4 separate regions of the Homo sapiens genome follow, and regions 2, 3 and 4 are each linked to region 1. The links are contacts of gene promoters, found by promoter capture Hi-C in blood cells and fetal thymus (Javierre and others, 2016). All regions are on one chromosome and are shown on one strand. Each heading gives the region's core, a stretch centred on a gene start or on the middle of the fragment in contact. The rest is flanking DNA. Distances are from core to core; before and after follow the strand shown.

Evidence for each region. The method cuts DNA at HindIII sites, captures the fragments that hold promoters and counts their contacts. A CHiCAGO score of 5 or more calls a contact.
Region 2: a fragment that was not itself captured here is called in contact with the fragment with the promoter of FAM209B in region 1 in 1 of 17 cell types (endothelial precursors); the score reaches 5.7 in endothelial precursors.
Region 3: a contact is called between a fragment that was not itself captured here and the fragment with the promoter of FAM209B in region 1, in 1 of 17 cell types (erythroblasts). The highest score is 5.5, in erythroblasts.
Region 4: a contact is called between a fragment that was not itself captured here and the fragment with the promoter of FAM209B in region 1, in 1 of 17 cell types (M0 macrophages). The highest score is 6.1, in M0 macrophages.

Annotation. Positions count from the first base shown.
Region 1 is chr20:56,529,629-56,536,191 of GRCh38, reverse strand. FAM209B (family with sequence similarity 209 member B) reads right to left here and starts at 2,946. Exons shown (of 2, transcript NM_001013646.4): 1 at 2,602-2,946; 2 at 1-20. The coding sequence starts at 2,850. It also overlaps a transcript of FAM209A not described here. The HindIII fragment of the contact is 5,101 bases long and covers 1-4,934 here.
Region 2 is chr20:57,341,954-57,348,516 of GRCh38, reverse strand. It overlaps SPO11 (SPO11 initiator of meiotic double strand breaks), which reads right to left. Exons shown (of 13, transcript NM_012444.3): 12 at 5,677-5,788; 13 at 4,524-5,176. The coding sequence ends at 5,057. Among named protein-coding and RNA genes, the nearest start is that of RAE1, 6.0 kb to the left of the region's middle. The HindIII fragment of the contact is 4,748 bases long and covers 388-5,135 here.
Region 3 is chr20:57,321,719-57,328,281 of GRCh38, reverse strand. It overlaps LOC105372687 (a long non-coding RNA gene), which reads left to right. Exons shown (of 12, transcript XR_007067670.1): 2 at 179-324. Among named protein-coding and RNA genes, the nearest start is that of MIR4325, 3.4 kb to the right of the region's middle. RefSeq lists enhancers at 941-1,443, 1,444-1,947. The HindIII fragment of the contact is 4,013 bases long and covers 1,654-5,666 here.
Region 4 is chr20:57,044,511-57,051,073 of GRCh38, reverse strand. No RefSeq gene overlaps it. Among named protein-coding and RNA genes, the nearest start is that of BMP7-AS1, 170 kb to the left of the region's middle. RefSeq lists an enhancer at 5,854-6,355. The HindIII fragment of the contact is 7,563 bases long and covers 1-6,525 here.

The DNA of each region.
Region 1 (6,563 bases), core at 1,697-4,196:
AGGCCAGGAGGACTCTGCTCCTGTCAAGAAAGATATTCAAGGTCAATAATATCATGGACTTTGCTGGTTTTGACACAGTTCCAAGACAGTTGGGCTCATTTAAGAAAAGATGGTTCTAGCAGTGCTCGAGTGCAGGCACTGGCAGACTATGGCCAAATTTGGCCCTCCACCTGTTTTTGTAAATAAAGTTTTATTGGCACACAGTCATGCTCACTCATTTCTATATTGTTTAAGGCTGCTTCATGTTACAACAGCAGATTTGAGTAGTTGCAAGGAAGACCGTACTGCCCACAAAGCTGTAAATATTCACTCTCTGGCCCTTTACAGAAAAAGTTTGCCAATCCTTCCTCTAATCAGTTTGGGCACAGGATCATGAAATGCTGGGTCTTTCTAGGGGAGAATACGCTTTCTTTCCCTTTCTCCTTCTACTTGAAAGAATTGTTTATGGTCACTTTGAGGCCCAGCTGTTACTACTTTACACCTTCATCTCTTTTTTTTGTTTGTTTTTTTGAGACACAGTTTCACTCTGTCACCCAGGCTGGTGTGATCTTGGCTCACCGCAACCTCCACTTCCTGGGTTCAAGCAATTCTTTTTTTTTGTGAGACGGAATCTTGCCCTGTCACCCAGGCTGGAGTGCAGTGGCATGATCTCGGTTCACTGCAACCTCTGCCTCCCAGGTTCCAGCTATTCTCCTGCCTCAGCCTCCCGAGTAGCTGGGATTACAGGCACCCGCCATCATGCCCGGCTAATTTTTGTATTTTTGTAGAGACAGGGTTTTATCATGTTGGCCAGGCTGGTCTCGAACTCCTGACCTCAGGTGATCCACCCGCCTCGGCTTCCCAAATTGCTGGGATTACAGGCATGAGCCACCACCCCCGGCCGGGGTTCAAGCAACTCTTATGCCTCAGCCTCCCAAGTAGCTGGGACCACAGGTGCCCACCACCATACCAGCTAATTTTTTTTTTTTTTGAGACAGAGTCTCACTTTGTCGCCCAGGCTGGCGTGCAGTGGCACGATCTCAGCTCACTGCAACCTCTGCCTCCCAGGTTCAAGTGATTCTCCTGCCTCAGTCTCCCGAGTAGCTGGGATTACAGGGGTGTGCCACCACACCTGGCTAATTTCTGTATTTTTTTTTTTTTTTGAGACAGAGTTTTGCTCTTGTTGCCCAGGCTGGAGGGCAATGGCGCAGTTTCGGCTCACTGCAACCTCCACCTCCCGGGTTCAAGCGATTCTCCTGCCTCAGCCTCCCGAGTAGCTGGGATTACAGGCATGCGCCACTACGCCTAATTTTGTATTTTTAGTAGAGACGGGCTTTCTCCATGTTGGTCAGGCTGGTCTCAACTTCCTGACCTCAGATGATCCGTCCGCCTCGGCCTCCCAAAGTGCTGGGATTACAGGCATGAGCCACTGGGCCCAGCTTTTTTTTTTTTTTTTTTTTTTTTTGAGACAGAGTCTCACTCTGTCACCTGGGCTGGAGTGCAGTGGCTCCATCTCGGCTCACTACCACCTCTGCCTCCAGGGTTCAAGTGATTCTCCTGCCTCAGCCTCCCGAGTAGCTGGGATTACAGGCGCCCGCCACTACGCCCAGCTAGGTTTTGTATTTTTAGTAGAGACAGGGTTTCACCATGTTGCCCAGCTGGTCTCGAACTCCTGACCTCGTGATTCACCCGCCTCAGCCTCCCAAAGTGCTAGGATTACAGGGGTGAGCCACCGCGCCTGGCCTAATTTCTGTATTTTTAGTAAAGACGAGGTTTCACCATGTTGGCCAGGCTGGTCTCAATCTCCTGACCTCAAGTGATCTGCCCGTCTCGGCCTCCCAAAGTTCTGGGATTACAGGCATGAGCCACTGTGCCCGGCCTACACCTTTATCTCCTTACAGAAGTTTCATATTTTGTTGGGATGATATCATTTCCATTTAGCTCAGGAATTTTCAGTAAGTCAAGCACTAGGAAAAATGTAAAAAGCAAGGGAACAGTGAATTTGGCCCTGTGAATAATATAATTTTGACCTTCTAAAACACACCATAAGTTCTTTATTTTGAGACAGAGTCTCAGTCGCCCATGCAGGAGTGCAGTAGTGTGATCTCAGCTCACCACAACCTCTGCCTCCAGGGTTCAAGCCATTCTTCTGCCTCAGCCTCCCGAGTAGCTGGGATTACAGACACACGCCGCCATGCCCAGCTAATTTTTGTATTTTTAGTAGAGATGGGGTTTCACCGTGTTGGCCAGGCTGTTCTCAAACTCCCGACCTCAGGCAATCCACCTGCCCTGGCCTCCCAAAGTGATGGGATTACAGCATGAACCACTGCGCCCGGCTGAGTTCTTGAATCTATCCTACATTTGAAAAAATCCATCTAACCAGAAGAACTTTGAGCCAAGAAACTAGAGGTCATCTTCCACTGTTTGTCCCAATATCTGTGGATGTGGGGACTATTGTCTTCACTAAGGATACATCAGGAAGTGAATTTGCCAGCTTTGCCCAGGACCATGAGGTCGGTTCATTATACCCAACGGTGCCGCCTAGACTCACTAGAACATCCGTTTCCCTGAGACTCCTGAGATTGAATCAATATGGTGTAAAAAAAATGGAGCCATCCTTACCTTATTCTTCTCACTGTCTCTTTGACACTGCAGTATCACAAACGGCACAACAGCAAACAAAAGCCAGAGCCATTTGCTCCCAAGCCAGCCTTGGGTGTGCTCTGGTAGGTTCTGCCGAATCCGAAAGTGCTCTCCACACGGCACCTTCCCCTGGGGTTCGCTAGTTTTCTGTCTCAGAGAAGAGAACATAAAGGCATAGCTGCAGGTGAGGCACAGAAGCAGGACCAGGGACGATTTCAGCGTCCACATGGTGAGCAGAGATGGGGAAGGGAGTTGCTCATGACGGGTTTGCTTGCCCTCGCAACTGGAAGACTGGGCACCTGGTGCCAGGCCCTTGGTGATGTCACAGAGGCCCTGAGCTGAGGCCACCCTGGCCATTGTGATGATTTCAGGACAGAGGTTACAGGTCACAGGAGTCGCCCGGGAGGAGGACTCAAAGGGAGATGGGGGCATTTCCAGCAGGCAGTCAGAGAGAGAGGATAGGCACGACGGGGTGCCAATTCCCTGCCAGGGGACTCTTTCCAACCCTCGAGCTTTTGCTGGTAGAGGCCGTCATGTTTCTGTTTTTCATTTGTTTGATCCAAACACTATGATGAGCAGAGGGAGATGCCATGTGCCCCGTGGAGCTGAGTTAAATGGGAGAGAAAGATATTAAACCACAGGCTACCTACAAACTCGGAGCCACCTATGTGTTTTGTTTGGCCTATGTTGTTTCTAAAAATTATTAGTCAGTACTTAAATGTTGTGGGGGGTGGGTATTTCACTTTAAAAGTCCAGGTTTCCGGCTTCCTTTGAAAATATGAGAGCGTGGCCGGGCGCGGCAGCTCACGCCTGTAATCCCAGCACTTTGGGAGGCTGAGGCGGGCAGATTACGAGGTCAAGAGATCGAGACCATCCTGTCCAACGTGGTGAAACCCCGTCTTTACTAAAAATACAAAAATTAGCTGGATGTGGTGGCACACGCCTGTAGTCTCAGCTACTTGGGAGGCTGAGACAGGAGAATCACTTGAACCCAGGAGGCAGAGGTTGTGATGAGCCGAGATCACGCCACTGCACTCCAGCCTGGCAACAGAGCAAGACTCTGTCTCAAAAAAAAAAAAAAAAAAAAAAGAAAAAGAAAAAGAAAGAAAAGAAAATATGAAGAGTTCTGGAAGCACTGGGCCCACACTGTCATAGAACCAGTCTTCTGCTAGAGCCAAGTGAAATCATCCATCCTGTGGCCATATTCCCTCCACAGTCCCCACCACTCCCTATTACCACATACCATCATTGACAGCAGCAGTGTGTGCCTGCCTTGGGTTAAGAGTATACTTTGGAGCCAGGCCTGGTGGCTCACACTTGTAATCCCAGCACTTTGGGAGGCCAAGGTAGGCAGATCACCCAAGGTCAGAAGTTTGAGACCAGCCTGGCCAACATGGTGAAACCCTATCTCTACTAAAAATACACAAATTAGCCAGGCATGGTGGCATGTGCCTGTAATCCCAGCTACTTGGGAGGCTGAGACGGGAGAATCACTTGAACCCAGGAAGTAGAGGTTACAGTGAGCTTAGATGGCGCCACTGCACTCCAGTCTGGGCAACAGAGCAGGGCTCAGTCTCAAAAAAAAAAAAAAAAAAGAAAAGAAAAGAAAAGAAAAGAAAAAAAGAGTATACATTGGGCCAGGCACAGGGGCAGGGGCTCACACCTGTAATCCCAGCACTTTGGGAGGCCAGGGTGGGCAGATCACCTGAGGTCAGGAGGAGTTCCAGACCAATCTGGCTAACATAGCGAGACCCCATCTCTACTAAAAATACAAAAATTAGCCAGGTGTGGCAATGCACGCCTGCAATCTCAGCTACTTGGGAGGCTGAGGCAGGAGAATCATTTGAACCTTGGAGGCAGAGGTTGCAGTGAGCTGAGATCAAGACACTCTACTCCAGCCTGGGTGACAGAGTGAGACTGTGTTTCAGAAAAGAAAAAAGAGTATAGTTCGATTAAAATTGTGGTAAGAGGCCGGGCACGGTGGCTCATGCCTGTAATCCCAGCACCTTGGGAGGGTGAGGTGGGTGGATCACCTAAGGTCGAGAGTTTGAGACCAGCCAAGCCAACATGGAGAAACCCCATCTCTACTAAAAATACAAAAAAATTAGCTGGGCATGGTGGTGCATGCCTGTAATCCCAGCTACTCGGGAGGCTGAGGCAGGAGAATTGCTTGAACCTGGGAGGCAGAGGTTGCGGTGAGCTGAGATTGTGCCATTGCACTCCAGCCTGGGCAACAAGAGCGAAACTCCATCTCAAAAAAAAAAAAAAAACAAAGAAAGAAGAAAAAACAATTGTGATAAGAACAGGAAGCTTTAGAGACGAGCACAAGGGGACTGCTCTATACTAGGTTATGCAGGAAGAGTGTCCAGAAAAAGATGGTTGAGTAGAGCAGGGGAGATGATTAGGAGTTGGTGGGTAAAATGGGAAGGGGCTGAATCCCCCAAGTGAGAAGGAACAGCTAGCTTGACAACTGAGGCCAAGGCTGGGAATGAACCTAGGACTCCACAGTATACCTGAAACCATGAGTTCTTTAAAATGACATGAAACAAGAAATCCTGGGTGCTGGAATGCACGGCTTGTACTTGTTCCCCTGGGTCATCTGTAGAGCTATCTTCCTGAGGAAGGCTCTGATTCGCAGATTTACTCCCGAGGAGCAGAACTTTATGCTGCATAGGAAATAATCAAGAGTCAGCTGGGCACCCTCGCTGTGCCTTAAATTGTACTGAGCTCTGTGGAGTGACAAAGAAGTTCTACAAGCTATGGCCAGGGGCAGTGGCTCATGCCTGTAATCCCAGCACTTTGGGAAGCCAATGTGAGCAGATCATCTGAGGTCAGGAGTTCGAGACCAGCCTGACCAACATGGTGAAACACTGTCGCCACTAAAAATACAAAAAAAAAAAAAAAAATTAGCTGAGTGTGGTGGTGCATGCCTGTAATCTTAGCTACTTGGGAGGCTGAGGCAGGAGAATCGCTTGAGCCCAGGAGTTGCGGCTGCAATGAGCTCAGATGATGCCATTGCACTATAACCTGGGCAACAGAGCAAGACTCTGTCTCTAAAAAAAAATGAATAAATTCTCCTGAGCAGTCTAGGGGAAAAAGAACAGAACACATGTGGTACATACCATAGTTGTTCAATGAATCCTTCTGTAAAATGATGTCTGATCTGGCCCTTATCAACCCAGCAAACCCAACTTCCTCCATTCCCACCTGCCCTGCCAGCGTCCTCTCTGCTCCTCCACATGACAAACTTGAGCAAACTCTTCCCTTTGTCCTGACATCTGCCTGGACCACTTTTCCAGAATCCTTTTCCTGCCTATGACTTTGTCCTCCATTCCTGCTCCTTGCCAAAATGGCATACAGTAGATACTCAGTATGTTGTTGAATGGATGGATGAGTGGGTGGGAGGGTGGATGGGTGGGTGGGTAGATGGATGGATGGGTTAGTGGGTGGGTGGATGGATGAATGGATGGATGGATGGGTGGATGGTTGGATGGATGGGTGTGTGGGTGGGTGGGTGGTTGAGTGGATTTTTGTTGTCGTTGTTGTTTTGAGACAGAGTCTTGCTGTGTCGCCCAGGCTGGAGTGCAGGGGCACTATGTCAGCTCACTGCAAGCTCTGCCTCCCAGGTTCAAGTGATTCTCACTCCTCAGCCTCCTGAGTAGCTGGGACTACAGGTGCATGCCATCACGCCTGCCTAATTTTCGTATTTGTATTTATTATTTGTTTATTTATTTATTCTTTTTTTGAGATGGAGTCTCTGTTGCCCAGGCTGGAGTGCAATGGCGTGATCTCGGCTCACTGCAACCTCCACCTCCTGGGTTCAAGAGATTCTCCTGCCTCAGCCTCCTGAGTAGCTGGGATTACAGGCACACGCCAACACACCCAACTAATTTTTGTACTTTTAGTAGAGATGAGGTTTCACCATGTTGGCCAGGCTGGTC
Region 2 (6,563 bases), core at 1,512-4,011, 810 kb before region 1:
CAGGGGCCAGCAGGGCCGGCCGGCTGCTCCGAGTGCGGGGCCCGCCAAGCCCACGCCCACCCGGAACTCCAGCTGGCCCGCAAGCGCCGCGCGCAGCCCCGGTTCCCGCTCGCGCCTCTCCCTCCACCCCTCCCTGCAAGCTGAGGGAGCGGGCTTCGGCCTTGGCCAGCCCAGAAACGGGGTCCCACAGTGCAGCGGTGGGCTGAAGGGCTCCTCAAGTGCCGCCAAAGTGGGAGCCCAGGCAGAGGATGCCCCGAGAGCGAGCGAGGGCTGTGAGGACTGCCAGCACGCTGTCATCTCTCAATGTGACTTACCAGAGCTCACACAACTGATACAGAGTAGGTCCATGATGTCTGTCCTGTGCCTGACCCTCCTACCAGCAAAGCTTTGGACTCATCTCTGAGAAGTGCTTCAACTACATTTTCTTATCCTTTTTCAATGGAACTCCTCTTACTATCTTTCCTTTAAACTCTCAAAAGCCCTCCCAAAGCTCTCTCAGGGTTTCGAGGCATATTCTGCCTCATTAAATAGTGTATTTGTCTTGTCTAGATTCCTAGATTTAAAACTTGTATCTACTTCCATGTATATGCTTTGCAGCACCAAGCAGAGTATCTTACATGTGTTCGTTATTAATACTTGTTGCATTTTATGTTTCAACGCCCAATGTATCTTCCAGAAGCCTCTATTATGATACAGATTCCTCTATAATCCTGGTTATTCAGCATGCTCTATAAACTCTTCCCGCTGTTTAGGATTATGTAGTTGACAAACTGCTTTTGCATATACCATCAGTGGAACCACTGAGGAGCAGTATGCTCGCCCAAATATTATAGCTGATATTCCAAGACTCTTGTTAAATGGATAATCTCATTTAATCCTCACCATGACCCTACCAAGTCATTATTATTGTTGTTATGCCCATTTTATGGTTGATGAAACTGAGATCAGGTTGTAACTTGTCCCAGCCATAGAGGCAAGGAGTAGACGTAGAATTGGAATGCAAGCAGCCTGCCCCAAAACCTAACTCTACACTTCCACAGGTGGCAGATTATGCTGATTTATGTTTTGCCTCCTAGAAACAAAAAGGGAGAACGGTATTTTATTTTATTTTTTTTTGAGATGGACTCTCGCCCTGTCGCCCAGGCTGGAGTGAGTGCAGTGGCGCGACCTCGGCTCGGTGTAACCTCTGCCTCTAGGGCTCAAGCGATTATCCTGCCTCAGCCTCTCCAGTAACTGGGATTACGGGTGCACACCACCATGCCTGGCTAATTTTTGTATCTTTCGTAGAGACGGGGTTTCACTATGTTGGTCAGGCTGGTCTTGAACTCCTGACCTTGTGATCCGCCCACCTTGGCCTCCCAAAGTGCTGGGATTACAGGCGTGAGCTACCGTGCTCTGCGAGATCAGTAAGATTTTATCCCTGGGTATGATTGTATGATTATTGAGCCATACAATATAGGTGAAAAATAATTAAACAATAGAAAAATAATTAAATTTTGGTAGTGACTGTCATTCAAACTGGTAAACTTTTCTGCCATTTTTACACAGGGAATATTTATGAATAAGTACAGTTTCTATTAATTGCTAGATGAATAGAAACTGAACATGCCTATATTCTTAGCATGAGTTACTTTTCATTTTGAATTTTTAATAAAAGAGATGTAATATGTTGGCTTAAAGTTTTGTGAATAGCTAGGTTGCAAAGAAGCACACATTAAGTGTAGCTTTACAGGGAATTGGGGCATCCAAAGCTGATTAACAAAGCGGATTCCTGTTGAGTGTATCACATAGAAACCCTCTTGGTTTTCCCCAAACTCTTTTGTTGTGACTCAAGACTCTACCCCATTCCTTTAGACAATGACTTGAAAACATTTCAAAGAAATTTCCACCCAAAATAGTGGAAGGAGTTGAGAGAATAATGAGCGTTTGCCAGCAGAGGGCGACCTTGGCTTGTTTCTACAGGATTGTTTCCTTGGGATACCTATCTGTGTAACAGTGAACAGAGAAGTTCATTTAGCAAACAGAAGTGCACGTTTCTCAATATTTCACTACAAAAACATTTCATTGAAAATCTTTTAATGTACATGTATATATAGCTTAGAGAATATGTTCTTTTCAGCACCACTGAACAGATTATCTACATCAAACTAGCAGCTCAACTGAGACACTCAGTAAGGAAGTCATAGATGGAAACCCTGGAGGGTTTTCCTTATTTTTATAAAGTGCACTATGGTTTTTCTTCCCTATGAACTCATAACTTCTGAAATCACTTAGTATCACCAATTATTATAATCAAATTTCTCAGAAAACGGGGGATACTACAAGCAACTTTTAGTTTGTTAGGGTAATTATGAACCCTTAAGGGAAAACTAAGAGTCTCTGAGCACCTTTTTGTTGTACTAGTTTTTGTTGTTATTGTTGTTTGAAACAAGGTCTCACTCTGTCACCCAGGCCTGAGTGCAGTGGTGCAATCATAGCTCACTGCAGCATTGAACTCCTGGTTTCAAGTGATCCTTCCACCTCAACCTCCCTAGTAGATGAGCCTATGGACATGTGCCACCATAACCAACTAATTTTTAAAAATTGAGATGGGAGTCCCATTATTTTGCTCAGGCTGGTCTTGAACTCCTGGGTTCAAGCAATCCTCCTCCTCAGTCTCCCAAAGCTCTGGGATTACAGGTGTGAGCCACCGTGCCCAGCCTTGTTGTATTAGTTTTTATACATTTTAATTTTAAAGATTCCAATCTAATGTTTTCTTGATTAAAATTATGGAAATATCCAAATTAGATACAGTTAGATGATGGTAGATGAGATTATTGTTATCAGTTACCATTTTAAATGCTAAGTATTATGGTAATCCTTTTTAGAAAGAAATCTTTAGAATTAGAATTCTAGATGGTTCCCAAATAGCTACTAGCATTAATTTTTCATTTTCATCTAATAAAGATAGGTAGTAACGTCAAACTATAGTGTATTTTGCTCTCTTTCCATTTTCATTTCCCAAATAATTGAAAATTATTTTAAGTAAATTTGCAATAATAAACTTGAGATGACTTAATTATCCAAACTGGAGGTATCTGTCTTTTTCAAATTTATTTTTAAATTTGAATGACTATCGTAGATTTGTCACTCCTTCCCATTTTGATAGTATATCCTAAGCCAGATGTGTCGTGGGTTAAACATATTTTTAAGTTAGTAATTTCTTCCTTTACAAAGCATACCAAAGTTAAGTGACACTGTTACATGTTAAAGGAGTAAGTATGGTATAAATTCAGAGGAAATTTTTTCTTATTTATAAAAATGTTTTTAGAATTTTTGATAGTCTCACGAGTAAGTAAAATTAACAGCATACCAGAATGTTCCCAAAATGAAATGTGTGGTTCCTATGTGACCAGGGAATATAACATATTTGTTAATTGTAGGTATGGTATCGGGGGATCTTGATTTGACACTAGCCAACAATAAGACTTGCAGACCTTTCCATGCAGTGAGGACACAGACCACACGTGAAGTACTTTACCTGTACTAGCGCCATGGTACCCACACTTTCTGGTTTGAAGTCCCAGCTCCACTGCTTATTAGTTATGTGACCTTGGGAAAATTATTTAACCTTTCTGTACCTTTGTTTTCTCACCTGTAAAATGGGGGTGATTTTTTAAAAGTACCTAGCTCATAAGGTTTCTGTGAAGATGCAATGAGTTATTGTTTACAAAGCACCTACAAAAATACCTAGCACATAGTAAGTGCTATGTATGTATTTTCCTTTATTATTATATTACCTTCTTCAATCCTTACTACATACAACCTCTTGGGCAGGCCCAGCCTCACAGGTGTACCACCCGTGCAGTCACCCAGGACCCCAGGCTAAGAAGGGCCTGTGCTTGGTTTAATTCTCTGCTGCTATCATCTTGAAATTCTTAATAAAAAGGGATCCCACATTTACATTTTGCATTGAGACCCACATTTTCTTGAGGTAGGTAGTATTATTGTCCCCTGGTATTATTGTGGCTTTGGACAAATAGCATCCTCAGTGTTCTCACCTGAAAACTATGGTGTAGTTACCCAGTAATTACAAGGTCCTTGGGGGAATTAAATGAGATACTGAATCAGCAGTGATTGGCACATGTAAGTTCTCAGAAATGGTATATATTATTATTATTGTTACCATTTCTCTTTATAAAATAGCTAACCTAATATTACCGTGCTTCTATAAATTCTTATTCTTGCTTGCAAGCACAAGAAACTTTCAGTGCAGTTAAAGGTTTACTGAAAGTACAGAATAAAATCATAAAACTGACCTCTGGCAAAATTAAGATAGGTTTATGGAGGGAAAAGGTCACATATTTACTGTTGGAGAAGTACCTTATTAAAATCTGAGGCTTCTGTAGATCTTAAAACTGAAGAAGTTTTTTGTTCTATAGACAGACTAGAGAAGCATTCAAGACCTTCGAGAAACTTTTCAAATAAATAATATTATCAATAAAAAATAGGCTCAATACAAAATAAAGCAAAACACTGAAGACTACATCAATCCAAATATTTATTCATACTGAATTTTACTAATGTAACAAATGAATTAATGGAGTAAGACCCCTAAAGTATAAAGGCAAAGGAAAATGTAAGAAGAAACTACCGGACACCACAATTCATTTGCAACATCTCAAATTCAGATCATTATGATTTTTGTTACCAGTAAGATACTTTATGCGTTAACATTAGTTGTATCGTAGAAGGTAAATATTTTGTAGACTTTGATGACATGTATAAAATATTATTTTTTCAAAAATAATTTAAAGGTCAAAATAACATATTCTTTTATAATTTGCTTTAGAAGATAGGACAGAAATCTGTCTCTATAGAGGCAAGAATAAGGCCTTGCAAAGAAAATTGGAGTACAGCATTTGTTTTGACAAAAATATATAATTAACGGAAAGTTATTTTATTTCACTTTTACAGAATTAAGAATATAATATATGTTCTTTCCACAATAGTATTTGCCAATCAAAACAAAACTAATGAAAAGCCTCTGGCAATCAGAAGTTCTTCTGATTTATTTTTATATCCATCCTCCAAATTTTAATTTGTTAGGTAAGTACACTCTGGAAAGATAATCTGATGATAGGAAAGTCAAAGCTTGAATTTCTGCCTTCATTTTAGAGTCTGCCATTATTTCCATCTGTCAATAAAAGTAAAATGTACTCATACCAGAGTTCTTAGTTGCATTTCTGTCAATTCAACAAACTAGTAATCTAGAATTGCTTTATTCTCCAAAACCAGGGACAATAGTCTTAAGGGTCAGCCAGAATATTCCAGAGCTGCTACAGCTAAAAATATCTGGAGTGAGAGTACTCTGTATGCTGTCTTCAATAATTAGGGATAGTCTGAAATCTTTATGATTTCTTCTTCCTTTTTTTAATCCCACAAACTATGATACAGCCATCAAGAATGTGTATATAACCATGATAAGGATACAAACAGGCCAGCTCCATTCACTGATCTCATCTATTAGCATTCATATGACTCAATTTCAACAACTATTTACTGCCAAACAACACTTATGTTAGTCGTGTCATATAAAATTTCAAGAGGGATATTTTCAAAATACGATGTGAATAGCCACTACTAAAGTAAAAGACAATTAAACATGCAACACTTGAGTTGTAAAAGGAAACATACTTCTTTTCTCCAAAATGGTTGGCAGGTAACATAAGGTCTCCTCAGGATACTGTCAAGTTTCATTTGGTCCCTTTTTGTCAGTGGAATCAAACTATCTTTAGGTACATTTAATCTGGAAAAAAGTAGGTGAAAAAAATCAGTAAAAAAGTGTTTCTGTAACTTGAATGTCCTGTATTTTGCCTGTATTTATGGTACTACTTCAAGAAACTCAGAAATAAGAAAATTAGTACAGATCTACCTCTTACATCCAGGATTGAAGGGATCTGTCATGTCTTAGACCAGCAAGTTTTCAAGTTCATAGTGGAAGTTTGTGTTTCCACAGTAAGATTCTAAAGTTTTTGTTTTCCTTCATGTCACACTCGTGGGATGATGACAGGATGACAGGAAGACTGATATTGGTTATTAAACAAATGCCAATAGCACTACCATCAGGTATACAGATACCAGGGCAGCTTAATAATGTACATTAAGCCTCTCAGAGCTTCACACTCTTCTGGCAGTGAGCTCCAATATGCATGGCCAACGGCTGAGATTCACTGAGGGACTTTAGGTTCCATTGAGTATTTAATTCTTCATAATTCATTTGAAGATTCTGGGCCATGGAAGTTAGTGTCTCACTTTTATCATTTTACACACACACACACACACTTTTATCACTTTACACACACACAAACACATTCTTACCTATCTAGTTTTAAATTTGAAAAACGTGGAATATAACTTTATCATGGTATGTGTTTTAAAAATAGAACATGAGAGGTCCTGGATTTATGGTGTGGACTACCTTTTGAAGTCACAAATCCTAGATTTCCCAGGAGAGTCTTTTTCAATGTGTCCATAATTATGACCATTTGCCAGGGGCAGTTCTTGGATAGGGGTGACAATTT
Region 3 (6,563 bases), core at 2,411-4,910, 790 kb before region 1:
GGAACAAGGTGGTTCCAAGGCCTTTGGGGGCCTGGTCCTGCATGGGTGGGGTGCTGGGGCTTGGCCCCAGAAGAGCTACTTGGGAGAACTGTTTTGTTCTTTCCGTTCCTGGTAATTTGATAATTTTCCAACTAAAACTAGTTTCCCATCATAAATAATGCACTCCCTCTGTTCACAGGGATGGTTGCCTGTGTTGATGGCTGTTCTGCATGTACCAAGCACTGTGTTGATGGCTTTACATTGCTGTTATCACAAATACTTCCTCACTGCCTACCTTGCACCGGGCAAGGTTTATTACCGAGGACACAGCTGTGAACAAGGCAGGTAAACCCCTTCCTCTTAGGGAGCTCGGAGCCTAAAAGGAGGGGAGAACTAAAGGCAATCAGGTGAACTTTTTTTTTTTTTTTTGAGATGGAGTTTCGCTCTTGTTTCCCAGGCTGGAGTGCAGTGGCACAATCTCGGCTCACTGCAATCTCCGCCTCCTGGGTTCAAGTAATTCTCCTGCCTCAGCCTCCTGAGTAGCTGGGATTACAGGCAAGTGCCATCGCACCCGGCTAGGTTTTTGTATTTTTTAGTAGAGATGGGGTTTCACCATGTTGGCCAGGCTGGTCTCGAACTCCTGACCTCAGGTGATCCATCCTCCTCACCCTCCCAAAGTGCTGGGATTATGGGCGTGAGCCACTGCACCTGGCCAGATGAACTCTTACATAATTAAGTTGGCAGGGTAAGAAATGCACTGAAAATAAATCAGTGACTTTAAGAGGTGAAAAATAGTACACCCAATTCACATATGAAGAAACTGAGGTTTGGAGAAATTAACCCTTTTGTGTAAGATTGGACCTCCAGTAAGTGACAGAGCTGAGAGTTAAACCTTGACTCCAAATTCATGCTCTTAACCACTTGGATATGAGGCATCTGTGGGGGTCTGGCTTGGAGTGTGTCATCGTTCTCTGGGGGCTTTGGTGGTGGTCTTAGTTTTCTCATCTTTCAAATGAGGGTGTGCGGCAGGTGGGTTCTCATGCGTCATCCCCAAAGAGGAACAAACAAATGAAAGGATCTTGCAGGCCAGGAGGTCAATGACACTGTCAAGGCTTGTCTGCTGGAAGGTGCCTCTCCCCTGGGACTAGAAACATTTCTGTCCACTTTTCCCTGTCCCCTGAGGACAGAGCCTTTGGTATCACTTAGCATTAGACTCAACCAGAAGCCAGCAGCCTTGCTAGACCTGACACAGAATGAAAGGTCCTGAGCTGGGTGGGGGCACAAGGAGAGGATCAGAACAGTGAAGTGAAGTGAGCAAACCCGTAATAAACCTGGCATTCCTAAGAGGAGAAACCGCAAAGTGCAAGGTGCGACTTGAAAGGACTTGGCTGGGGTTCCCACTGCGCTGACAAAAGCAGGAGGGGCAGCTCACCCTCCAGCAGCTAGGCTCTGCCTGTGCCCTGCAGGTATCCTGCTCCACGGCAGGACTCATAGGCCCTCCCCCAGCAGCTGTGTGCACCACCTTCACATCAAAGTCAACAGTCCCAGCCCCAGGCTGTGAGCAAGAACCAGAAAAACATATTCTGCTCCTAGCAACACATTGCAAATGAAACTGACAAATGCCAACTTGCAGGACAGTCTCAATACTGAGTTCTCCCTATGGGCCAGGAAGCTTCCCCGCAAACCCTACTAGCCGGTGTTTCCTCCAAACTCATACTCAGTCCCAGAAACACAGTAGAGGGCCAAAATCTTTGTGCAGGCTGGAAAGGAGTATTGTTTAAATTAGGTGCAAAGATCTGTTCCACCTCTAACACATCCAAAAAAGGGAAAGAAGGGAGGCAAGGATGGGGAGGCCCTTTCAACAAACCAGACAGGAGAGGATAGCATACTTCTTACATTTAAACAAGGTGGCTTATCTAGCAAATGTAAGTGAATTTTAACATTTTGTAGATTCATGGCAGGGCGCGGTGGCTCAGGCCTGTAATCCCGGCACTTTGGGAGGCCGAGGTGAGCAGATCACTTGAACTTAGGAGTTTGAGACCAGCCTGGGCAACATGGTGAAACCATGTCTCTACAAAAAATACAAAAATTAGCCAGGTGTGGTGGCCTGAGGTGGAAGGATCACTTGAGTCCTGGAGGCGGAGGTTAGAGTGAGCTGAGATTCACGCCACTGCTCTCCAGCCTGGGCCACAGAGCAGAACCTGTCTCAAAAAAAAAAAAAGAAAAAAGAAAAATATATGGTAGCTTCTTGTTAGACAAGAAGTAGAGAAAAGGCCATAATATTTTCTTTACTTCTTGAGGGTTTATAGCCATTTTTCCTTTGCATTTTTTAGCTTTCGAAAATTGTGAGACTGCTACATGCTTCTCATAAGATATTGACATAATTCAGAAGTGTGTGAGATGTGAGCGAAAGAGAAAGAGACCTCCCCGCTCCCCATCACTGCAGCTGCACTGGCTCCACCTTCTTGGGTCCTCCTTTTTTTTTTTCTTTCTTTTTTTTTTTTTTGAGATAGGATCTCCCTCTGTCACCCAAGCTAGAGTGCAGTGGCGCCATCAAAGCTCACTGCAGCCTTGACCTCCTGGGCTCAAGCAATCCTCCTGCCTCAGTCTCCCAATGTGTTCGAATTACAGGTGTGAGCCACTGCTTCTGGTCTGGTCTGCTCTTCTCGCTGCAACCTTTGCATCTTGGAATTGTTCCTTCCTGCTCTAAGGCCTTTGCACTTGCCTTTCCCTTAACAGCTTGGGACCCCTTGTCCTTTTTCTTTCCCTACTCCCCTCCCTTCCCCTCCCAAATCCAACCTGGCTAACTCTCCTGCAGCCTTCAGATCGCCCTCTGAACATCTTCCTGGGCTACACCCCTGTGTCTTGACTCCTGGTTACCATGTGCCCACAGCTCCACGTGGCACATGGAATGATTGAATGAGTGACTCCTCATGGGGTTACCTCTGTTACCTATTCCTTGTATTTTATCCCAGGCATTTTTCTATTCATGCCCAAATTAGCAACGTGTCCAGAGTAAGACTTCACTCTGCAGACTGGTATTGCTGCTTCTGGTAATAATAGGAACTAAGGTTCGCTGACGGTCAGACACTGGGCCCAGTGCTTCATGCATAAAATCTCATTTACCCCCTCCCATTTTACAGCAGAGAAAGTTGAGTACCAAGAAGTATAAAAATTGCTGGGTTTCATAGAGATGCAAGTGATAAGGTGCTGACAGGAAGGGTTTCTTTGATCTAAGCCGCTATACGATATTGCCTCAAAGTCAAGGCAACTTAGTATTGATGAATTAATTTGCTTGTTGTTGTAGCTAGTGATCATGTACCAGGATGTGTGATGTAAAGCAGATCATATCCTGGTGTGAATAAAATGAAATCTAATGTTAAGAAGATCACCAAAATATTTGCAAGCCTATGGGTCATCTTATTAACAAAAGCAGGATGTTCACTTATTTTTAGAGAGTGCTGTCATGCACTACCGTGGACCCAACACCAGCTTCCATGACTGTCAACTCATGGCCAACATTTTGTCACCCACATCCACCCCCTTACCTACCCTCACACCAGATTATTTTGAAACCAATCCCAAGAATCATATTATTTTATTAATAAGTGTTTCAGCATGTTTCTAAAAAAAAAAAGGACTCTTAAACACATTATAATTCCATTATCATACTAAAAGGTATGTTAACAATCATTCTTTATATCACCAAGTATTCTATCTGTTGAAATTGCCCCAATTGTTTCAGCAATTGTTTTCTTCTCATTTAAAAAAGTTATCTATTTTAATTGACAAATAAAAATTGTGTATATCTATCCTATACAACATGTTGTTTTGAAATCTGTATCCATATTTAGCTTGATTAGCTAAATCATGCTAATGAACATACACCTTAGCTCACATACTTATCATTTTTTTGTGGTGAGAACACACACAGGTAGTCCTAAAATGTACTCTCAGCGATTTTCAAGAATACAATAGCTTGTCATGAACTACCTAGGCACCATGTTGTACAGTAGATCTCTTGACCTTATTCAGCCTGTCTAACTGGAATTTTATATCTTTTGACCCCTATCTCCCCAGTCCCCTAGCCCCCACTCTGTTGCTTACCATGCTACTCCCACTTCTATGAGTTTGGCTTTTTTAGATTTCACATATAAGCGAGACCATGCGGCATTTGTTATGTTTGTTTAGTTTGTTTTCATCAAGATGCGAATAAGGTCCATCCACACATGGCTGTTGGTTGATATGACTCTTAAGTCTCCTAAATTCTATAGGTTCTTCTCCAGTTTTCTTTCCTTGCAATTTACTTGTTGAAGAAACTGAGTCATTAGTCCCAGAGAGTTTTGTGCAATTAGGAGTTTGGGGATTGCATCCCTGTGATATAATTTACTATGTTTTTCTGTTTCAGGTATTTCTTATAAATTGAGAGTTGAATTTGGAGGCTTAACTGTTTCTGGTTTGATTTTTTTTTCATAAAAATATTTCGTAGGTGGTTTGAAATATTTATTTTTTATTTTTAGGCAGAGTCCTGCTCTGTCGCCCAGGCTGGAGTGCAGTGGTGTGATCTCCAGCTCACTGCAACCTCCGCCTCCCGGGCTCAAGTGATTCTCCTGCCTCAGCTTCCTGAGTAGCTGAGATTACAGGTACCCACCACCATGCCCAGCTAATTTTTGTATTTTTAGTAGAGATGGGGTTTCGCCATGTTGGCCAGGCTGGTCTTGAACTCCTGACCTCAGGTGATCCGCCCACCTTGGCCTCCCAAAGTGCTAGGATTACAGGCATGAGCCACCGTGCCCGGCCTAGGTTTAAAATATTTAGAACCTCCATTGTAACCTTCCAGAACTCCTCTGGCTGGGGCTTCCAGGTTGAGAACTTCAGAGCTAGCCTCAATCTCAGCCTCTCATTCACTGAAGTAGCAGCCAAGCCCGGGAGGATAAGTCATGCTGAGCAAAATCTCTGCAGCCTGCAAAATCCCTTCACAGACTACAGACCCAGATGGAGAAAGCTGAGGAGGGCTTTAGAAAAAGCAGCTTCCCTCTGCTGCACTGAGTCGCCCTGGGGATTTGCAGGGGAGGTTCCCCGACCTGGTTCGCTTTCTGCTTGTTAGCACGCAGGGTGGCTTTGTGCCACAGCCCAGCCTGACTCATCCTCTCTGCTCTTTATTTCTTTCCTCCTCACACCCTCGCTGAGCTGCTAATTGCTCTCCTCCACCCTCCCCCTTGGTTGGAATCCTGAGGCCCTGACCTAGAGACACCCCATCACAAGTGTTTTCCAGCTAGCTCCAAAACCTCATCTCTGCTTTATTTGAAAATCAGTCAACATTAAACAGAGACTTGCTCTGATTTAAGGAGACTTTTAAAACTGAAGTAATTTTCCTTCTCTCCCTTCGCTTCTTCGTTTTCTTTTTTATTGTTTGTTTTCCATTTTTTAAGACTTCTTGGCAACTGGTTTTGGGAGAAAGAGGCACTTTTGCAAAGGACCAGAAGGCATGTCCAGTGTTCAAACCCAAGGCGATGAAACCCCAAAAGGTGTTTTCCTTTCCACATCTCTGTCTCTTCCACTCCTAGGCACACACCAGAAGGGCTGCCCAATTTACACATTGGCAGGCTTATGATTCATCCAACAAATGGTTTAAGCACCTTCATGGTTCCCAGGGCCCTTCTTAGTACTGGAGATTCAACCAAGCTTGGCATCACCAAGTTCCTGCACACACATTGCTGGGGAAGGCAGATTAAAAAAAAAAAAAGTCCAGGAACAGTGGCTCATGCCTGTAATCCCATCGTTTTGGGAGGCTGAGGCAGGAAGATCACTTGAGCCCAGGAGTTTGAGACCAGGCTGGGCAACACATTGAGACCCCATCTCTGCAAAACATTTTTTTAAAAAATTAGCTGGACATTGTGGCTCATGCCAGTAGTCCTAGCTACTTGGGAGGCTGAGGCAGGAGGATCACTGGAGCCCGGGAGGTTGAGGCTGCAGTGAGCTATGATCAAGTCACTGCATTCCAGCTTGGGTGACAGAAGGAGACCCCATGTCTAAAGAAAAACAAAGAAGGAAAAAAAATACACAATTTAAGTTCAATCACAGTGTGTTAGAGGGAAAAACAATCTGTGTGGTAGGAAAGTGGGTGACTGGGCAGGAAAGTGCAATGAAGGTGGGAGAGAGGAGGGCAGAAGAAACCTGTCTCAGGTGAGGGCCTTGGAGCTAAAGCCTTAGCTATGAAGAAGATCTGAGGGGACGAGCTCCAGGCAGAGGGAGCGAGGAGCTATGCAAAGGCCCTGCGGAGAGATTCACTGGGAGAACTTAAAGGGCAGAGAGCAGGCCAACGTTGATGGAGAGATGAGCGGGGACGTCTATCGGCCACAGTGAGGAAACAGGACTCTGTTCTAAGGCAGTGATTCCAGTGGGGGCGATTTTGCCCCTCAAAGGACATTTGGCAATGTTGGGAGACATTTTTGGTTGCCACCCATTTGGGGGCAGTTGCTCCTGGCATCTAGTGGGAAGGGGCCAGGGATGCTGCCTATGTCCTGCAAAGCACAGGACAGCCCCTACCACAGAGAACTCATCAGTCCCAGATATTGATAGTG
Region 4 (6,563 bases), core at 1,495-3,994, 520 kb before region 1:
CATGGTTTTGTCCTGGTTGGACCCCATAAACACTCGAAGGCAACCAGACTGACTTTGAAAGCAGAAGGTCCTAGTTTTTTGGGGTCCAGCCCAAAACATTAGCCTTGGGGCCATGTTTTCTTTTTTCATTTTATTTATTTTAAGAGATAAAATCTTGCTCTGTCATGCAGGCTGGAGTACCAGTGATCACTGCTCACAGCAGCCTCTAACTCCTAGGCTCAAGCTATCCTCCCACCTCAGCCTCTTGAGTAACTGGGACTGCAGGTGTGTACCACCATGCCTGGATAAGGGGCCATGTTTTGTTCCAACACAGGCATTCTGATCTTGTCCTTTTAATGGAAAGGCCATCAGAAGTTTGGGATATGGATTCCGTAGGAATGAAGTTTAAAACACAAAATGACTCCAGCTAACATGTGTTCAAGGGCTTACTAAGTGCCAGGCTTTGTACTAAGTGCTTAATATGAAGTATGTTCGGACACCATCAAAACAATGTTATGAAAGGCAGTCTTCCTCCCTTATCTGTGGGGGATGCTTTCCAAGACCCCCCAGTGGATGCCTAAAGTCACAGATAGTACCAAACCCTATGTACGTTTTTTCCTGTACAGTAAAGGGCAGATAGTGTGGCCAATGTGGACACCCTGGACCAAGGGAGTACTCACATCCCGGTGGGACAGAGCAGGATGGCTCAGGATTTCATCACACTACTCGGAACAGTATACGATTTAAAACGTACAAATTGTTTCTTTCTGGAATTTTCTAGTTTCAGAATATTTTTGGACCGCAGTTGACTGCAGGTAGCAGAAACCTAGGAAAACGAAACTGCCAATGGGGGACCACTGTATTCCTATTATCATGCCTGTTTTGCACAGGGAGAAACCGAGGCTCCCAGAGGTTAAAAAGCTGCCCAAGATCACACAGGTAAGCAAGTGGCTGAGTCAGGGCTCCGACCCGGGCCATGAAGCCCCATCTCAGCTGCTGTGGATATTGCCTGCTGCAAGCTCACTGTGTCAGCACCCACCAAAGATATACGCCGTGGAAGGGCCCAGTGAGAAAGCAGTGACCATGTTTTGGATTTCTCTCCAGGTAAATATTTTTTCAAACAGGCCTTCCATGTGGAAAGGAATCACCAGATCAAATACAGAATAGCCAGTTAAATTGGGTGTTTAGATAAACAATGAATAACTTTTTTTACTGTAAGTATGCCCTGACTTGCTTGTGCTGAGAAGAAGAGTTACTCATTGTTTATCTGCAGTTCAAATTGACCTGGACATCTTATATTTTATCTGCTCTGTCTCTGGCCACGCTGCTGGGCAGGCTTGACCACACACATCTGCGGAACTCTGGGTCTCCGCCGTACGAGTGGCATAGACGCCATCCTCAATGCAGATCCCCATCAAACCTGGAAAAAATAAAATAAGGCCTCCCAGGTAACTGTGAGACCTATAGGTGCTTGTTAGTTTCCTAAGCTGCTCAAGCTGCCGTGCTCTGACAGCTGTACTTGTGCTTTGCGGCGTAATTTACAGGCCCGCTGGAGGGGATGGCAGGGTGGGACCCTGCTCCTCTTATTTGCTGCCAAGATTTGGGGCTACCAGTTGCTCTTGTCAATCTTTGGCTTAATTATTTAGCAGTTGTAAAGGACTCATTAAAAACGCCCAAGTTTATTGGAAACACCTCCCGCCGCTCGGAGGCAGGCCAAATCGGGAGCCCGTGTACCCACATGTTCAGGTTGAGCCCAACAAAATTGCTGACTTTAATTACACTACTTGGTCTAGAAGGTGGTGAGAGTGGGGGGTGGGGGGAGGCATGGATGATGAGTGGGAAGCGAAGCGGAGGAGCGGCCCTGGAATCTCAGGGACAGGTCTTCAGAGGGTGCGATGCTGTGTGCTGACCCCATCCCAAACCCCCACCCCACTGGTTTCAGGCTCAGGCCAGCCCCTGTCGCGCCCCAGAGGTGGGCCTGCCCCTCTCCAGACCTCCAGGCTCTTCCTGCCTCCCTCATGCCTCTGGTGGGCCTGGTGAGTGTGGCTGTTCTCTTTTGTCTGAGTACTCATTGCCTGGATTTTATTACTTGAATAAATATCAAAACAAAGAAGAAAATCCTTCAACCAGCTCTGTCTTCATTTTCCACACATCCTTCCAGCCACGGGTTCCAGCCACAGGTTCATCCCCCAAGCTCCTCCAGAGGGGGTGTGTGGGAGCCCATGGAGGTGCTGGCCATGATCTCCCTGATGGCCCAGGTGACACACAGTGATGGAGCCCCTCTCCAGGCAAGGAGGCACCTTGGAGAGCAGGCTACCTTTTCAGAGTTCCCACCCCAGCTGTGCCTGTCTGGGCCCCTATTGTTGAATGAATGGAGATGTTACTCCCAATTTTGTCTTTCAATCATAATACTAGCCTCCTTTGTGAACCTTTTTTTTTTTTTTCAGTATGTGCCTATTTCTTTAGGCTGGCGCCCCAGGTTGGAATTACTGGGTGAAGATGAAATCACAGGTGGGGACTCTGATCCTTTATCACCTCTCCTGGGCCACCACCCTCTCACCTGGGCGTTCCATCGGCCTCCTCCCTGGGCTCCCTGCTGCCCTCCTGGCCTCTGGGCTGCCCATTCTCAACTTGGCAGCCAGGGGGTGCTGCTGCAACCAAAGTGTGATCTTAATGCTCCAGCCCCTGCAATGGATTCCTCCCCTCTCAGGGTGACAGCAAGGTCATCGCAGTGACTTATAAGCGGAGCAGAGCCAAGCCCTAGAGCAGAATTTCTCAACTACTGCACTTTTGACATTGGGCTGGGCCGTTCTCTGAGCAGGGGCTGCCCTGGGCATTGCAGGGTGTTTAGCAGTATCCCTGGCCCCCACCCACTCGATGGCAAGTAGTACTCCCCAAATTATGACAATGGAAAAATGTCTCCAGATGTCGCCAGATGTCCCCTGAGAACCGCAGGTGACGAGAGCCTCTGACTTCCCCTCCTCCCCTCCCTCCGGCACTTCGCTGTGGCCACGCTGGCGGTCTTGCTGTTTCTTAAGCCCTCAGCAGCTTTGCACTGGCTGTTCCTTCTCCCGGATGAGCCCTTCCCCAGATACCTGCCTGGCTCAGGCGTTGCCTTTTTAATGTCGTGACTCAAATGTCCCCTTCTCATTGAGGCCTGCCTGGACTCCCTCTTTAGAATAGCACCGGGCCCCCGTGACTTTATCAGGCTTTGTTTCCAACAAACTTGTCACCAGACACACTGTATTTTTATTTACTTATTAAGTAACTGGAACGCTGTCTCTGTCTCTCTGCCGGGATGTAATATCCAGAAGGGCAGGGATTTTTGTCTGTTTTCCTTGCTGCTGTGGCACCGGTGCCTGTCCCAGCACAGTACCTGGCCCCTAGCCAGGGCTCACTGAACGTCGCTTGAGGAAGAAACAAGGGATGACCTTTGATGCCAGAGTCAGAAACACGGTTTTTGGTGCCGCATGTCCGCCCCTCTCTGTGGACAGGGGGAGGCGGTGGGGAAGGCCCAGGTCTCCCAGAGCAACTGGTTTTGCTCCCTGAGGGGCTTGCTGGCCTCCTGGGGTGGAGGTGTCACCAGGGGCAGGATTCCTGCTGAGCAAGTGAAACACCCGCTGCAGGCAGCAGAGGGTGCAGCTGAGAGTTGGTCACGATTGCACTTCCGACTTTGGAGACCCAGAACCACTCCAGCGGAGGCCCTGGGGGAGCCCCTTCCCTTTTGGAGGAAGGAAAGGGAGACCTCTGTTTGCTGGCTGAGTCGGGGTGTGAAGCAGGTTGGGCAGGATGAGGAGGCCGAATTGGGAAGGAGGGGGAGGTGGGGGCTGGATTTAAATGGGGCCAGGCCTGAATTTCATCTCAGCAACTGCTCCGTAGGCCCCAGCTTTAAGAGGGGGTTCGCCCTCCACCCGCACATCCAAGACTCGTTGGAGCACTGGGGTGTGGTCTCCGGACAGTTCACAGGGATCTGCATTCCTGAGGCTGGGGGTGGTCAACGGATGGTCAAGATGAGCATGTCCCAATCAATGGAGGGCCTCCTTCCCCCTCCATGCAGGGTCTCTGTGCAGGGCGCTCGCCCAGGGCTTTGTCTGGGTCCTCTCCAGTTACCCACTCCAGAGGGGTCTCTGTGATGCGTCCTCGGCCACCCACCAGCATCACTAGTCCACAGGAGAGCATGTGAGGAGGGGAACCCCCGCCTGCACCCTGTGCCTGATGGCTCATTTGCTTCCATCCCTTCCTAGCAGCACTAGGAGGAGTCACTCTCAGGAGACCCACTTTATAGCTGAAGATACTGAGGACCAGAGAGGTGAAGTCTCCTGCCTAAGGTCACACAGCCCCTCAGTGGAGAAACAGAGATTCCAACTACAGTTCACTTCCCAGAAGTTTCCAGGACTTGAGCTTGAGGGTGAGGCAGGAGAAATCCTACTGAGAGCTTCTTTCCTCCTCCACTCACCAGCCCTGTTCTAGGGGCTTTGGACCTTGCTACTCAAAGTGTGGCCAAAGCCCATAGCATCAGCCTCTCCTGGGAGCATGTTTGAAATGCAGGTTCTTGGCCGGGCACAGTGGCTTACAGCTGTAATCCCAGCATTTTGGGAGGTGGAGGTGGGCGGATCTCTTGAGTCAAGGAGTTGGAGACCAGCCTGGGCAACACAGCAAAACCCTGTCTCTAAAAAAAAAAAAAATACAAAAAAATACAAAAATTAGCCAGGTGTAGTGATGAGCACCTGTAGTCCCAGCTACTCAGGAGGCTGAGGTGGAAGAATCGTTTAAGCCCCGGGGGCAGAGGTTGCAGTGAGCCGAGATTGTGCCACTGTCCTCCAGCCTGGACTGACAGAATGAGGCCCTGTCTCAAAAAAAAAAAAAAAAAAAAGAAGAAGAAAAGAAAAAAAAGAAAGAAAGACAGAAAGAAAGAAAGAAAGAAAGAAAAGAAAAGAAAAGAGAAAAGACAAAGAATTGCAGGTTCTCAAACCAGCAACTCGTTTTAACAAGATTGTCCCTCATTCTCAAACTTTACCTTTGAATCATCCCCCATGGGTCTGGAGTGGGGCCCAAGAATCTGCATTTCTCTCCAGGTGATGCAATAGCGAAGTTTTGTTCGCAGGGTCTTACTGTTCCCTGGCAGAGGGGGACCTCCAACAGATCGAGATAGCTGAGAAGAAGGCTGGTAAGACACAAGAAGCAATTCTGGACCTGGGCTTCTTGAACTTGAACATGCACCCGAATCACCTGGAGGACTTGTTAAAACGCAGAGTGCAGAGGGATGGGGGGAAAGAATGTGCATTTCTTTTTTTTCTTTCTTTTTTTTAATTATTATTATACTTTAAGTTTTAGGGTACATGTGCACAATGTGCAGGTTAGTTACATATGTATACATGTGCCATGCTGGTGCGCTGCACCCACTAGCTCGTCATCTAGCATTAGGTATATCTCCCAATGCTATCCCTCCCCCCTCCCCCCACCCCACAACAGTCCCCAGAGTGTGATGTTCCCCTTCCTGTGTCCATGTGTTCTCATTGTTCAATTCCCACCTATGAGTGAGAATATGCGGTGTTTGGTTTTTTGTTCAAGAATATGCATTTCTAACAAGTTCCCCGATGCTGCTGATGCTGCAGGCCCGGGGACCCCACTTCAAGAACCACTGCTCTAGCCCTACAGGTGAGCTACCAGTGCATAACATGGTGCTCAGGGATTAGGGTGGTCAGAGACCCAAGTCTGCAGGGCTCCAGTTCCAGCCATCCCCTGCCTGGAGCCTCCTCTAGGGACCCTCGGAGGATGGCCCAAGCTGGGTGAGGTGAATGGCTGCCCCATACTCCCCACACAACCGGCACAAACTCTGCTCTGCCTGATGCTCCAGGTTCAACCAGGAGATCCTCCAGCATCTCAGCATCTTCGTCCACATCCCACAGCAAGCACACCTCTGCTCTCATGGACAAGGGCCCCTGGGGGCGCTGAGGGAGCTCGTGTCTCAGGTGCTGAAGGTGAATGATGTGCCACCCCAGGTGTAGCTGGAGGGAGGTGGAGGCAGGAGGCTGGGTGGAGGCTGCAGGTGGGCAGGGTCCAGATGGCCCAGAGCCCAGCTGGTGTTGATTTGCAGCTGATGTGTCCTTTTAGCATCATCCAAGCTGGCTTCAGAGTCACCGCACTCACAGTTCATGTCTGTTCTCCAAATTAGAGCATCACTGTTATTTCGAAGTACGTGGTATGGAAAAGTTCAGTTTGGAATTCTTGCATACAATCGTAAGAAATTACAATATTTTATGTTGTTAAAAGAATCTTTGGATTCTTTCAATATAATTTTCACCTGTTCTTTTATGTTCCTTTTTTGAATATTGTTTTAAAAATGATTTTAAAAAATATATTCCTTATTTATTCAAAATTTCTCATAAAGAGTGGCAATTAGTAATTTCCAGATATCCCTAACAAAATTCTTGCTGAGAAATTGTGTGCTATCATGTCAAGCATAAAATCTGGCATAAGCTAGGAACCTATATGGAAGCAAGTTCAAGTTCTTTTTTTAAGGTAAGAAGATTTTATTTGGAAGCTTTAAACAAAACTCAGTATTAAATATACCCCGTAATCCT